Linked DNA regions of Homo sapiens: regions 2 and 3 are each linked to region 1. Evidence: promoter capture Hi-C in 16 types of primary human blood cells and fetal thymus (Javierre and others, 2016). All regions are on one chromosome and are shown on one strand. Each heading gives the region's core, a stretch centred on a gene start or on the middle of the fragment in contact. The rest is flanking DNA. Distances are from core to core; before and after follow the strand shown.

Evidence for each region. Contacts are between HindIII fragments. The CHiCAGO score rates a contact against its expected background, and 5 or more counts as called.
Region 2: the fragment with the promoter of OR52E2 here is called in contact with the fragment with the promoter of OR51E2 in region 1 in 4 of 17 cell types (endothelial precursors, M1 macrophages, M2 macrophages and 1 more); the score reaches 5.6 in endothelial precursors.
Region 3: a contact is called between a fragment that was not itself captured here and the fragment with the promoter of OR51E2 in region 1, in 2 of 17 cell types (megakaryocytes and erythroblasts). The highest score is 7.2, in megakaryocytes.

What each region holds. Positions count from the first base shown.
Region 1 is chr11:4,695,338-4,700,004 of GRCh38, forward strand. OR51E2 (olfactory receptor family 51 subfamily E member 2) reads right to left here and starts at 2,516. Exons shown (of 2, transcript NM_030774.4): 1 at 2,316-2,516. It overlaps OR51C1 (olfactory receptor family 51 subfamily C member 1), which reads right to left and starts at 2,516. Exons shown (of 2, transcript NM_001396051.1): 1 at 2,316-2,516. The coding sequence starts at 2,324. The HindIII fragment of the contact is 1,338 bases long and covers 1,293-2,630 here.
Region 2 is chr11:5,056,987-5,061,653 of GRCh38, forward strand. OR52E2 (olfactory receptor family 52 subfamily E member 2) reads right to left here and starts at 2,641. Exons shown (of 1, transcript NM_001005164.2): 1 at 1,664-2,641. The coding sequence starts at 2,641. The coding sequence ends at 1,664. The HindIII fragment of the contact is 5,080 bases long and covers 1-3,331 here.
Region 3 is chr11:4,995,337-4,999,500 of GRCh38, forward strand. It overlaps OR51L1 (olfactory receptor family 51 subfamily L member 1), which reads left to right. Exons shown (of 3, transcript NM_001004755.2): 2 at 2,146-2,247; 3 at 3,488-4,164. The coding sequence starts at 3,647. Among named protein-coding and RNA genes, the nearest start is that of OR51L1, 2.6 kb to the left of the region's middle. The HindIII fragment of the contact is 269 bases long and covers 1,740-2,008 here.

The DNA.
Region 1 (4,667 bases), core at 1,266-3,765:
GCAATACTCAAGTTTTACTCTAACTCAACAATAAAAGCTTCCCACAGTTTTGTATAGATATTTCCAAACAATTCATTTCAACCAGGATATATTGAATAGTTTTCATAATTAGCCTTGTGCTTTGATAGTGAGGGATACAAGACATAAGCCCTGTTTCTCTCTCAATTTCCTGCTGTATCTTTTATAAGGATAAAAATTCCTTTGGAGAACAGTCTGCTTTTGTTTATTATTCCTTCACCTTCAGTAACAATCTGAATTCTTTCCCTAATGACTCTGAAAATCCTCCAAATGATGTCACCCGTGATTTTCTACATGCCAAGTCCAAAAGTTTAATCTCAGATTTGTTTTTCTCTCCCTCATCTCAACTTTCAGCAATGTTTACCTCCTCCTCCTTGAAACTTTCTCCTTCATTAGCTTCAGTGATGGTTATTCTGTGAGGTTTTTTTTTTTCCTGTTTGTTAAACAATGGTTTTGTTCTCTGCCTTATAAATTGTGGGATTCTAGAGGAGTCTGCTTTTCTCCCAAGAAGTACCTCTTCTTTTCTTGCTTTTCATATGCTCTCCTTGAGATATCTTGGTTATTCTCATGGCTTTAAATAGCACTTATATCCAGAAGACTCATAAATCTGCAATCTAATTATGGCATCTCCAGAGTTCTGTATTTTAAAAGTTAGCAGAATCTTTAACGCTGTGGCAAAGTTTCTGGTTTTAAGCGTAAAGGTAGTAATGAGACATGAAAATACAGTGAAGCAATCAAACCTGTAATTTAGAAAAATAATTGACAGCATTTTGGAGAACAAAGCTCCTTGCTGCATGTGGTGAATAAAAAGTAAATAAAATACTGTGGCTACCCCTGAGGGACATCTCTACCCATCATCACTCAGTTACTTCAACTTCTATATGAGACAAATGGAACTCATTCTCTCGTCCCCTCCAAACCTGGCTCTTCCTCCTGCTTCATTTATCAGCAAACGACATCGAACTCTAGTAAATCATTGAATTAAAATTACTACCCACCACACACACACACATGTGTGCACACACATACCCTCCTCTTTCTCTCTCTCATCCCTTACATATAAAGATTAGTTTTTAACTGATTCTACTCCTGAAATGTAAAAGATGAGAACCTCGGGAGGTCTATATAAGAAGGCCAAGCAATTGTTAGTAGTGGGTATTTGCAGCTATTATTTCATTGCATTTTTCTTACATTGAAAAAATCTTAAGTGTTTATATTCAAGACAAGAGGGGGACTAATGAATATCCTTAGAAGGAGGCACTAAATTTCCCCCAAGCTTCTCTTTTGTGCTGCCTTCACTCTAGAATCTTTCCGACCCATCCTCTCCAATCCATATATACTTTCATTTTCTCTCTTGTGAAATAAGCTATATTCTCTCAACTAATTTTTCTGCCCACTCGGATTACAATGATGCTCCTCTTTCATTGCACTATTATAAGCTATAGCTTGTGGCTGTCTTAATCTGCTGAACTAGACCTTATAGTGTCATCAGTATTCTCCATGCTATTGTCAATGGTATGGCTATCATGTGTGACTGACCTGGGTTCAGATTCTTGCTCAAACACTAACTAGTTTTGAGACCATCTACACCATTAATAAAAATATTACTCATAGAAATAGCTACCATTTACTGGACACGTGTTCTGTGAACATTATTGTCCTCAGTGCTTTATAAGCATTATTTTAATTCTTACTATGTCATCATGTGACAAGTATTATTAGATTCACTTTAAATTCATTTTTCTGGTAAAGACACTGAGTATCAGAAGTCTGAAACATATTTGAAATCACATACAACTGGTGAAAGTCAGAGCTGAATTTTTAACTCAGGTCTTTTTAATTCCAAAGCTCGTGCTCTCAAAAACAATTGTTTTACTGAAATCTACAAGTAATATAAACTTTCTGTGACCCAGTTTCCTCATCTATAAGACAGGATATGCGCTGTGTCTAATACCAGTAGCTGGCAGGCAATGCGTTCGAAATTGGTAACTTTTCATTTTTAGTAATAGTTATTGGGCATAGAAATGAGATTCACTGACTGTGATAAATATATCAGCACACTGATTAAACCATTTGACTAAAAACAAGTTATCTAACCTATATCAGGCAGAACGAAATACCCATTCTCTACGTATTTCCTGGGAATAAATAATTCTGAAATTCTACCGTCCTCCTCAGCCCACCATACCAACATCTAATCTAATTCTGCACATTGTGAGGAAATTACTCCCTGTGGGTGAGAAAGTCCAATTCATCTAGAGTCAAGCATTTTCATTGAACAAAACAGTTTTACTTACAGAGCCCATACAGCAGTTCGGCCTGTTCCTTTCAGGCTGACTCAGAAGGCTGAGGAGGCTTTAGATTCCAGGGGAGGGCCGAGCTTGCAAATATGAGGAGACTTATTCCAGCCTGACTGGAGACAGGCACAGAGCTGAAAGGCCAATTCCTGGTGGTGGTGCTAACTCACTGTGTCTTCAGGGTGTGGAGATTCCCAGAAGACTTCTTTTGCCTCATACAGTCCTTTTATATCTGTTCCATTATGCAATTACTTACGGTGGCTATGTGCTTTATGGGCTGATGTAACCTTTTTTTCATGTGTCATTTCACTCAAAAGCTTTTTTATTTAACAGCTTTATTGTTATATCATTCACATACTATAAAATTCACCCATTTATAGTGTATGATTCAATTTTTTTTAGTAAAGTCACAGAACTGTGCAAGAACCATCATCACAATTCAATTTTAGAACATTTTTTATTACCCTTAAAAGGAACCTCATAATCACTAGCAGTCACTCTGAAGGAGATTTTAAAAAACGAAATATTGTAGCAAATTGCTAAATGACATCTCCCATTATGAGTGAGAGTCCAACTCCACCCCTTAACTCCTCAGTATCTATGATTATTCACAGCAGTATGGTTTCATTAGCCCACCTGTGGTTCTTTGCAGCAGCAGTCTTTCTCTTACAGATAAAAAATAATTCATTTACTCATCCATACATATATCCAGTAAATATTTCATAAGAATGTCCCATATTCTAAACATTATACTCAGTGATAGAGTTTTTTTTTTTAAGAATACACCATAATTCTTACTGTTTAGGATTTTAGTGTAGAAGATAGACAGGTTAACCAATAATTACATGTTAACCAATGATAAGGTTATCCTAGAGGCATGAACCAAATGCTTGGTGAATACAGTAGGTAAAAATCTTGGTTCACAACTTACTTGTGTATAAAATACGGTTTCATTTACTTTTTTATAATTTGACCTATTTCGTATTTTGAAGTCCCAACCTACCAGGTTGAAGAGAATTAGTCACAATAATTTGGGGTTCTCTCTACTTATAGTCAAATTTTGAAAATCTTGTATTATACCAAGAAAAATTGCAGGTAGGTGGGTGATTGACTTGGCCAATGATGTCACCTTCTGTCAGTTTACTATCACTCTCATTAGTCTTTAATAAATAGAATGCATAGATTGCTATAAGTTGTCCATCTTTTCTCCTTATGGCCTCTTTAGATCCTTAGATATTCCCACCAATTTGGACCACACTTGGGCATATGGGTCTTTGATTCATTCTCAGTTTCTGTCTCTTACACCCTGCATTTAATCCATTGGTAAATTATGTCAATCTCTTTGAAAAATACAATCAGAAATTGATCACTGTTTATCATCTCCAGAAATGTCACCTTTATTTAAGTCACAATTATCTCTCACTTGGGTAACTTCAGTAGTTTCCTAACCATTCTCCCTGCTTCCGATATTATCTCCTCTCCACTATCAAATCTGTTTCACTACTGAAAATGTCATGGCCTGAGATATTTTCTTCTTCATAATGTAATAAAAACAATAAATAACAAGAACAATAATATTTTATTATGCATTCTACATCCATGATACTAGGCCAAGTGTTTGTGGTAGACAGGATAATGGCCCCTAAAGATACCTATGTCTTAATGCCTGGAACCTGTGAATATGTCACCTTACATTGCAAAGGGACTTTGCAGATGTGATTAAAGTTAAATAACTTGAGATGGCAAGATTAGATGGATTAGCTGGGTGGATCCAATATAGTCACACGGGTCTTTAAAAGTAGAGAACCAGAGAGATGGCAGCATGAGAAGGATTTGATCCACTGTTGCTGGCTTTGAAGATGGCAGAAGGAGGCTACAAGCCAAGGAATGTGGAAAGCCTCCAGAAGGAGAAAAGAAGATAATTGATTTTTCCCTAGCCCCTCCATAAAGAAATGCAGCCTGGTGATTCCTTGATTTTAGCTCAGTGAGATCCATGTCAACTTTTGACTTACACAACTCTACAATAATAAATTCAGTAGAAGAATCCATTATTAGTTTGATTTATGTCTTAAACCATGTTTAAACCAAAAATTAGAGTGTAAGTAACTTACCTAAGTTTCTCAGTTATAAATGGCACAAGTAGTATTCAAAGCCTCGGCTATCTGACACCCTCTCAGTTTTCAAAACTCATTTTCTAAACAGTCTTCACATGACTATCCATTCACCACTACTTTCAATTTGAGTCATCTACACCCAAAAGCCTGCATGCATGCTGATGTGCCAAACTGAATGTTAACAGGTTGTCACTTGTGCATGCTTATTCCTTGCACATAAAGGTATTTTATTGTTGTG
Region 2 (4,667 bases), core at 1,391-3,890, 360 kb after region 1:
TGTTTCCGGTTGAACTATTAATTCACCAGCAGGCATCAATTGCTGTTAGTACATGTGGGGAAAGCATTAAGGAATTATGCTCCTGGTTTATAATTTCAGTTTCAGGGAAAAGAAGTGGAAACAGGCTGACAAAAAGTGTAATGAGTGATCAGGATGGGAGGAATTGAGTGTCATTGGAAAGGGACATACAAAACATAGACAAGCAGATATACGAATACAGTCAAAGATGGTTTAGAATGAAATAAACAAAATGCATTATGAAACAACTATTTCGAATAATAAAATTAATCCAGTTGTGTGAAATTAAATTCTAATTTTAAAAATTCTACTAGGACATATAATTTCAATTTTTCTCTCAACAAAGATATAAAAAATATTTGGGGGAATTACGGTGAAATGAAGAATGAGAGATAAATTTAGAGCTAATTTTTTCTCAGCTTATTATTCTTACTCTAAAATCTTGGTGTTTTTCCGCCCCAAGATGGTTTCCATAATAGAAGAAAGTTTTGCTAATGGTTGGACTTTTATTTTTTAGTAAAGTATAAAACCTTATTAAATTATATTAAGTATGAATTAAAATCAATGCATTTGTATACTAAGTTCATTGACAGGGAGACTCAAGACTTTTTAAAAATAGGTTCTTCCCCAAAGGACCTATTTATTCATTGTGATTTTGAAAAATACCTCTTTTGTTTTAGAATAATTTTAGATATAACAGTAATTCGTGAGGATATTGCAGATAGTTCCCATATATCCCACATTTAATTCCCCTTATTGTAAACATCTTATATTAGTGTAGTCTATTTTCCAAAATTAATGAAGCAGGTAATTGATACATATTTATTGCTAAAGCTCATACTTTATTAAGATTTTCTTACTTTTTAGCCAATGTCCTTTTTCTAATCCAGCATCCCATTTAGGATACCCCATTACCATTAAATCGCTGTGTCTCTTAAGGGAAGATAAACATAAATTATAATGATATAGAACAATTAAAACAAAAAGTATGGACATTTCAAAGTTGAAGTTGCTCATTAATTTTAGACTCTATAAATTCCACAAAGTAAGGGAAGGTGACATAGTCAAAATTTTATCTCCAGCATCCTACAGTTATAAAAGTTGACACTCAGAAAATTATTATAATTGTATTGTAAGAAGCAGCTCCATGAAACATCAATTACCCAGCAAAAATGGGTGCATTCATATCTGATATAAACACTTCAACCAGCTATTCCAAATAATAGAGAAAAATAACATTACCTGCTTAAATGAAATTATAAGAGTATTGAATAGAGAGAACAAGAATGCAGCAATATGGTAAAACCCCATCTCTACTAAAAAACAAAAATTAGCCAGGCCATGGTGGTGCATGCCCATAGTCTCAGCTACTTGGCAGGCTGAGGCAGGAGAATCACTTGAACCCCAGGGACAGAGGTTACAGTGAGCTGAGATCATGCCACTGCTCTCCAGCCTGGGCAACAGAGCAAGACTCTGTCTCAAAAAAAAAAAAAAAAAATGCAGCAACAGATCTCAAAATGTGGTATGAAAAGCAGATGGAGAAATTCAATGTATTTAAATACAGAAGAGAGCCAATAAAGCCACATATTAGAATATAATTTTTATGACAAGACATTTCTCTCACTGAAATTTCATAAAATTGCATTCAGAACCTCGTATGTATTAGGTACTCTTCCTTTTCCATTCCTTGTTCCTGCAATAATATTTTCTTCACACATTTATAGATCTGCTTGGTTCTGACTCCATATATGACAGGATTGAGCATTGGTGGCACCACAACATAGAGATTGGCTAGGAGTATATGGATATAGCGGGGCACATTTCGGCCAAAGCGATGAGTCATAAAGGAAAAGAGGGCTGGTGTATAGAAGGCAAGGATTACACACACATGTGAACCACATGTGCTGAGGGACTTGAGTCGGGCTTCATGAGTAGGAAGACGGAAAACAGCACAAAGAATATGCACATAAGAAAGGGCAATGACTGTGATGTCAAACACTAGATTACAAATGGCACATAAACCATAAATAATATTGATTTTGATGCTGGCACAAGATAGATGAGCAAGACCCATGTGCTCACAGTAGGTGTGGGGAATTACATGATTCCCACAGAAGGGCAACCGCAATATAAGAAGTATAGAGGGAATGACGAAAATTAAAGCCCTCACAAACACACCAAGACCAATCACAGAAACAACCTTGTTGGTGAGGATGGCGCTATATTGGAGTGGATTGCAGATGGCCACATAGCTGTCATAAGCCATTGCCACAAGGACTGCTGACTCCATAAGTGTGAAGTTGTGGATAAAAAACATCTGGGTGAGGCAGGCTTCAAAGATGATCCCTCTGAGGTTGATCCAGAAGATTCCAAGCATCTTAGGGATGGTAGCTGTTGAGAGACCCACATCAGTGGTGGCCAACATGGCCAGGAAGTAGAACATGGGCTGGTGTAGGCTGCTGTCAGTCTTGATCACAAGTAGAATAGTGAAGTTCCCTATGAGTGCGATCATGTACACAGCACAGAAGGGAAAGCCGATCCAGATGTGAAGTGTTTCTAGTCCTGGGATCCCCAGCAACAGGAAGGAGGAGGGGTGAAACTGGGTGTCATTGGGAAGGAACATCCTGCTTGTGAATGCATAAGTCCACAGTCTACAGAAATGTATGCTCACCCAATCTGCATGTAACCACACAGGCTTCTGCAGTTCGGAGACAAAAATTTAATATAAGAAACATACATTTGTGCACATGATTTTTTGCAGGAAATTCTATCACTTTGAAACATACTGTATACAGAGCACTTTAGGTAAGTAACAAACATCTCAGGGATAAATTCTTAGATGAATTTATACAGTAAATTAAAATAAAATGTTCTACGTGATACTTTCAACTTTGCTAGCATTCTACTCTACCTAAACCCTATCAATATAACCTCACTGCCAATATTATGCTAAGATTTGCCTGAATACTTTTTACTTTAGCTATTCTCTCTCATTATTACCATCATCACCAAAGAACCCCTTTGAATTTTGAACAAGGTAGGGTTTTCCTAGCCCTTAAATGTAGTGGTGGAAATTAATTCCAGTTGATTGAATGATAACACATATGGATTAACACAGAGGGTGGGTACACTCTATTCAATAAACACACAGACTGATCAAAATTTATGCCAAAATATACTAAAAATCACTTAAAGGTTTAAAACTGTCCATTTAAAAATATTTACTCATTATTACTGTAAAATAAAATACAGAATAACAGTGAAAACAGTCGCATCAACTACCAATTATTGAAGTACTGCCTACTATTTGCAAAGCTTTGTTATGTGCAAATCATCTCCAATTTATAAAAAGAACACCCTTCAAGGAGAATATTAATTTTTCATATTTTCCATGTAAGCGATCAATGAGTTTAAGAGGCTTGTCAGATGTTTAAAATGCTTCTAATGGATGATCTGGGAAATTAAGCTAGGGATAAAAGTAGTGAATTTACATAGAAGGAAAATAGAAGGAAACAAAAGTGTAATGTATGACTTATCTGTGTTATTCACACCGGATAAAATACACACACACATGCATAATATTACACACAGGTTAGACAAATACATATTTTTTTCAAAACTCACAACATCCATCTGAATAACACGTTAGTATCTCTAGCTCAAAGCTGAGGCAATCATGACTTCAGGAATTTAAGATATATGTCAAATGTTTAATTAAAAACTAGTGAGAAAAAACAGGAGCCTTATAATATTAGATTTATGATAATGCAATCATGTTATTTATTTATTTATATTTTATTATTTGAGACAGAGTCACACTTTGTCACCCTGATTGGAGTGCAGTGGCACAATCTCAGCTCACTGCAACCTCTGCCTCCCAGGTTCAAGGGATTCTCCTGCCTCAGCCTCCAGAGAAACTGAGATTACATGCACGGGCCATCATACCTGGCTAATTTTTTATATCTTTAGTAGAGACGGGGTTTCTCCATGTTGTCCAGGCTGGTCTTGAACTCCTGGCCTCAAGTGATCTGACCACCTCTGCCTCCCAAAATGCCGGGATTACAGGAGTGAGCCACTGCACCCAGTCTCAATCATTTCAAAGTTACCTAAATTCATCTAATCTGTCTTCATGCACCTTGCTTGTAATATTTGATGGGGGAGTATTTTCAGAGCATTTCTGACCATGGAAAGCTTTTACTGTTCCATAGAAAAATGCCTTACTCAAGATTAGAGAGGTTAACAAACCCTGGCAGTTTGAAAGAAATGCCATGTAAATTATTGGGATTACTACCCAAATTAATGATAGTGATAAGTATGTAAATGATATGCTATGTAAGTCTATACCCCATTTTATAAAATGTGGGATGTTTAACAGGTAAAATAAAGAATAAATGACTACAAGAAAAAAATTGTCTGTGTACATAAAATAGCCATCTTCTTGAGAAATATGTAAATGAACAAAATTACAGGCATCATGTTTTTGAATACACAGAACTCCATAAAATATAACTAATGGTTTTCAGAAGATACAAAAATAGAAATATCTGGCACAACAATATTTTGGTGATAAATAAGTGCCACCAATCCTGTCTATCATGTCACATCAAACATTCTTTATGTGTTAAAATCTATTCTGAATGAAAACACAA
Region 3 (4,164 bases), core at 624-3,123, 300 kb after region 1:
TAAGTGTGAATTTTTAAATTATAAATAGTTGGTAGATTTTAGCACATTTTGTATGTGGATATAGTTTGCTAAAGAGAGTAAAATTATGAGAAAGATGATGTACCATTTATGCAAAAGGAAAAAGAATTATTCTCATCTGTGAAAAAAATTAAATTTATTACAGTATTGTAATGTCTTGTTCCAATTATTTTCAGCGATTTTAAGATAAGCGATAAGCTGATTAGCAGAGAATAGGTTTTGATACTAGAGAGGCTGTAAAAAAATGGTCTTATGTTCAGTAGTTCTCCCTTAATTACCTGGAATAGGTGAATGTGTGACATAAGCCTATTCATGCCTCTGCCCTTTGAAACAGTCTTGTTATTACTCCCAGTTCTTTTCTATTATTTCTCTTTCGACCTCAGTGTGATTAAGTTGTACTAAAATCAACAAAGAACCACAAAGAATCATTGTCAGTGACCCAGAAATAGAGTCAAAAGAAAATGAATAGAGAAAAGACAATAAATGGATTTTAAAAAGTGAAAGACATGACAGATATGGCAGTGAGAGGATAAGAAAGGGAAAGTACACACAGAAATAGAAACGGGAAAGGGGCTTAGGGGGCCCGGGTAGTGGAGGAAATGCGGAAAAGTAGCTCAAAGCATACAAACTTGCAGTTATGTAGGAAGAATAAGTCTAGAGATCTAATATACAGCATGACCACAGTTCATAATATTGTAGAATGGGAACTCTTTTCAGGTGAGGGATAAATCAATGAGATAAAGCAGTGAGTTAATAATATTGTAGAAATGGGGACTCTTTTTAAGTGAGGGATAAACCAATATGAGCAAGAATTAAAACCACAGAAATTGTATACCGAAAATTTGCCAAGAGAGTAGAGCTTAGGTGTTCTTAGCATACACATGCACGTGTGTGCATGCACACACACACACACAGGCACATAGTAATGACCATTTCACTATGTATATGTCTATGTATATGCATATATATATATAAACATCATTCTGTATACCTTAAATATACACAGTTAAAAATTAATAGGGATTACAAACAGAAATATTCCTGCCTGTCCTAACCTCAAATCTATTGGCCAGTCTACAACTGAAGTTTTCTAAACATCGCAATCTGCACATAGGGGACTTGCACATAAAGCAGGGAGAAAGAGAATTCTAAAGAGTAGTGATCCACTTTGTTCTTTGCATTCTATGTGAGAATTTAAGAAAATATGATTTATTTCAGGACTGAAAGAATTAAAGGAGAAAACATGGAATATTTTTCTGGCATGGGGTAAAATAAACTACTTCTCCACTGTGGCCACAGTTTTCTTTTCTTTTTCTTTTTTTCTCTTTCTTTCTTTTTCTTTCTTTTCCTTCCTTCCTTTCTTTTCTTTTCTTTCTTTCTTTCTTTCTTTCTTTCTTTCTTTCTTTCTTTCTTTCATTTCTCTCTCTCTGTTTCTTTCTTTCTCTCCTCCCTCTCTCTCACTCTGTGTGTGTGTGTGTTCTTTTTATTTCGATGTTAATACCTATATCATTTTTATGAGCTCAACTGTACAACAGGAGGTCAAAAAATTTTTCTGAGTGAGGAGAAAGAAAAAATAAAGTCAGCTAGTGATATGGAAGACTGGAGAGAAAAATGTTGCTTAGGGGTGAAGAAAAATAAATGCTCTAAACACATACTCTGCTGGGTGTGAAGAATTTGATGGGTAGCTGACTGCTTTATTTAAGACGAGGGTCTCAAATGAAAGCTTCATTCACATTGCCTAGGCTAGAGAAGAGTACCAGGTTAGGTTCTGACTCATAGAAGATGGAGGATTCCTGTACTTGGGTAAAAGTAGAAAAAGAGACAAATCCTTCTCATTACATGGAGAAGAGGGCTTTGTGCTTTCTTTTGTTCCTCAGATACAGATTCTAAATCAAGTCCTCTTTGGAATTCTAAGTTGTGCCATCTAAGAACTTTCAGTCTTCACGGTATGAAAGTGAGATAAGAATCAGTCAAGGGATTTTTAAAATAAAGCTTTTTATTAAATATAATGGAGATAATAAAAAGAAACAGCTAGCTAGCTGGAGCCTTGTGATACGAGTTTGAGACCACATTTGGAAATATTTTTACTCTAGGATGAGGCTAAGTCTTATCTTAATCTTTCAAAAGGTCAGAGACTAAGGGTCCAGAAGGAGGGTTGAGGGAATTACTGAGATGTTGCTACAGAGAGATGTTGCTGAAGTCTATGAGGCCCAGACTCTAAGGGACAAGGTAAGTAAATAATTTTCTCAGGGGCAGTTAATGGAACTAGACAGGGTTAAAATAAAGACCTAGGTAACAGAAGGGGCAGATAATCTCATAATGCTCAGCTGCTGTACCAAGTGCCATCAACACAGTATGATACAGCAAGGGCAACACTGGTTCAGCACAGGCAAGGAGGCTATTACAATAACAATTGCTGAGGGAAAGTAAAGCCAGATGTTAATATCATATTTTGAAACACTCAGAAGAGCTTGGTTGTTTCTAAGAGGCACTGATAGTGAATATTTAAGGCCTAAATTCTGGATTGTCATGAGTTCACAGAAGTAGGTGCAAGTGGGTCAGAAAATTAAGAACCACTTAATATTTTGATTGATGATCTTTTAAAAATGATATTAAAAGCATCGTTTGGAAACAGAAATCAATCAATCAAAAAAATCAATAGAAATAAAGTGGAAAAGTACCTCTTTTACTGAAAACATGTAATAGATAACTGTTAAATGCATTGTTCTCATTTTGTGGAAGAGCAGAAAGGGAAATGTCTTTAATGGACTTTCGTAGTTATATTGTGATGTTATGGCCTAAAGATTTATTTTCAAACTATTTAAACTCTTATTTCACAAACACACACACACACACACACACACACACACACACACACACACGCATATACACTCACACACTATATATATAGTTTTTTTACCGTGAATTTTTTTTTAGGTCAGGAATAGTTGCTATACTAAACAGCTCAAAACTGTGTTGGTTAAATAGCAGCTCAATAAAGCATGCTGGGATTATGGATTCTGGTATTATGGATTCTGTTTCTTATGTTCATGCTCTCTTTTCATATAGGGGTATTTATCTTGTATTATTAAAATATTAAATATTTAAAATGTTTAAATATTATAAATCTTTAAATAAAAATGCAGCTGAATAGAAATTATGTTGAGTCCATGGGATCAATTCGATTGTCATGAATGAAAAGATAGCCTAGAAGCAATAACTGATTAACTCAAGAACATTGGCCAGAAACTCATACAAATCCATCGACATTCACTCTGACTTTTCTCTATTTTCATCTTTATAATAATTAGTAAAAGTTCTTTTTTCTCTATTCTCACGTTGCTTAAATTCTTTAGTGTCTTTGATGCAAATCCAACGTATTTCTTGCCAGAGATGACCATATTTGTGTAGTCCACATTTTTGTTCCAGAATTTGTGCTCCTTAATATTGGGAAATGTTTTTTACATAGGGCCGACAAGAGATACCAGCTTCCTTCCTCTGTGAGGTTAGACGAAAGATGTATTTTTGTCCTCATTCCATTATTTGTACTCAAAAGAGATAACTTTGAGGGATCAGGAAGGAAAACACGAACCATTCCTCACTACTTGCTGAATTACTCAAAGTCACTATGGGAGACTGGAATAACAGTGATGCTGTGGAGCCCATATTTATCCTGAGGGGTTTTCCTGGACTGGAGTATGTTCATTCTTGGCTCTCCATCCTCTTCTGTCTTGCATATTTGGTAGCATTTATGGGTAATGTTACCATCCTGTCTGTCATTTGGATAGAATCCTCTCTCCATCAGCCCATGTATTACTTTATTTCCATCTTAGCAGTGAATGACCTGGGGATGTCCCTGTCTACACTTCCCACCATGCTTGCTGTGTTATGGTTGGATGCTCCAGAGATCCAGGCAAGTGCTTGCTATGCTCAGCTGTTCTTCATCCACACATTCACATTCCTGGAGTCCTCAGTGTTGCTGGCCATGGCCTTTGACCGTTTTGTTGCTATCTGCCATCCACTGCACTACCCCACCATCCTCACCAACAGTGTAATTGGCAAAATTGGTTTGGCCTGTTTGCTACGAAGCTTGGGAGTTGTACTTCCCACACCTTTGCTACTGAGACACTATCACTACTGCCATGG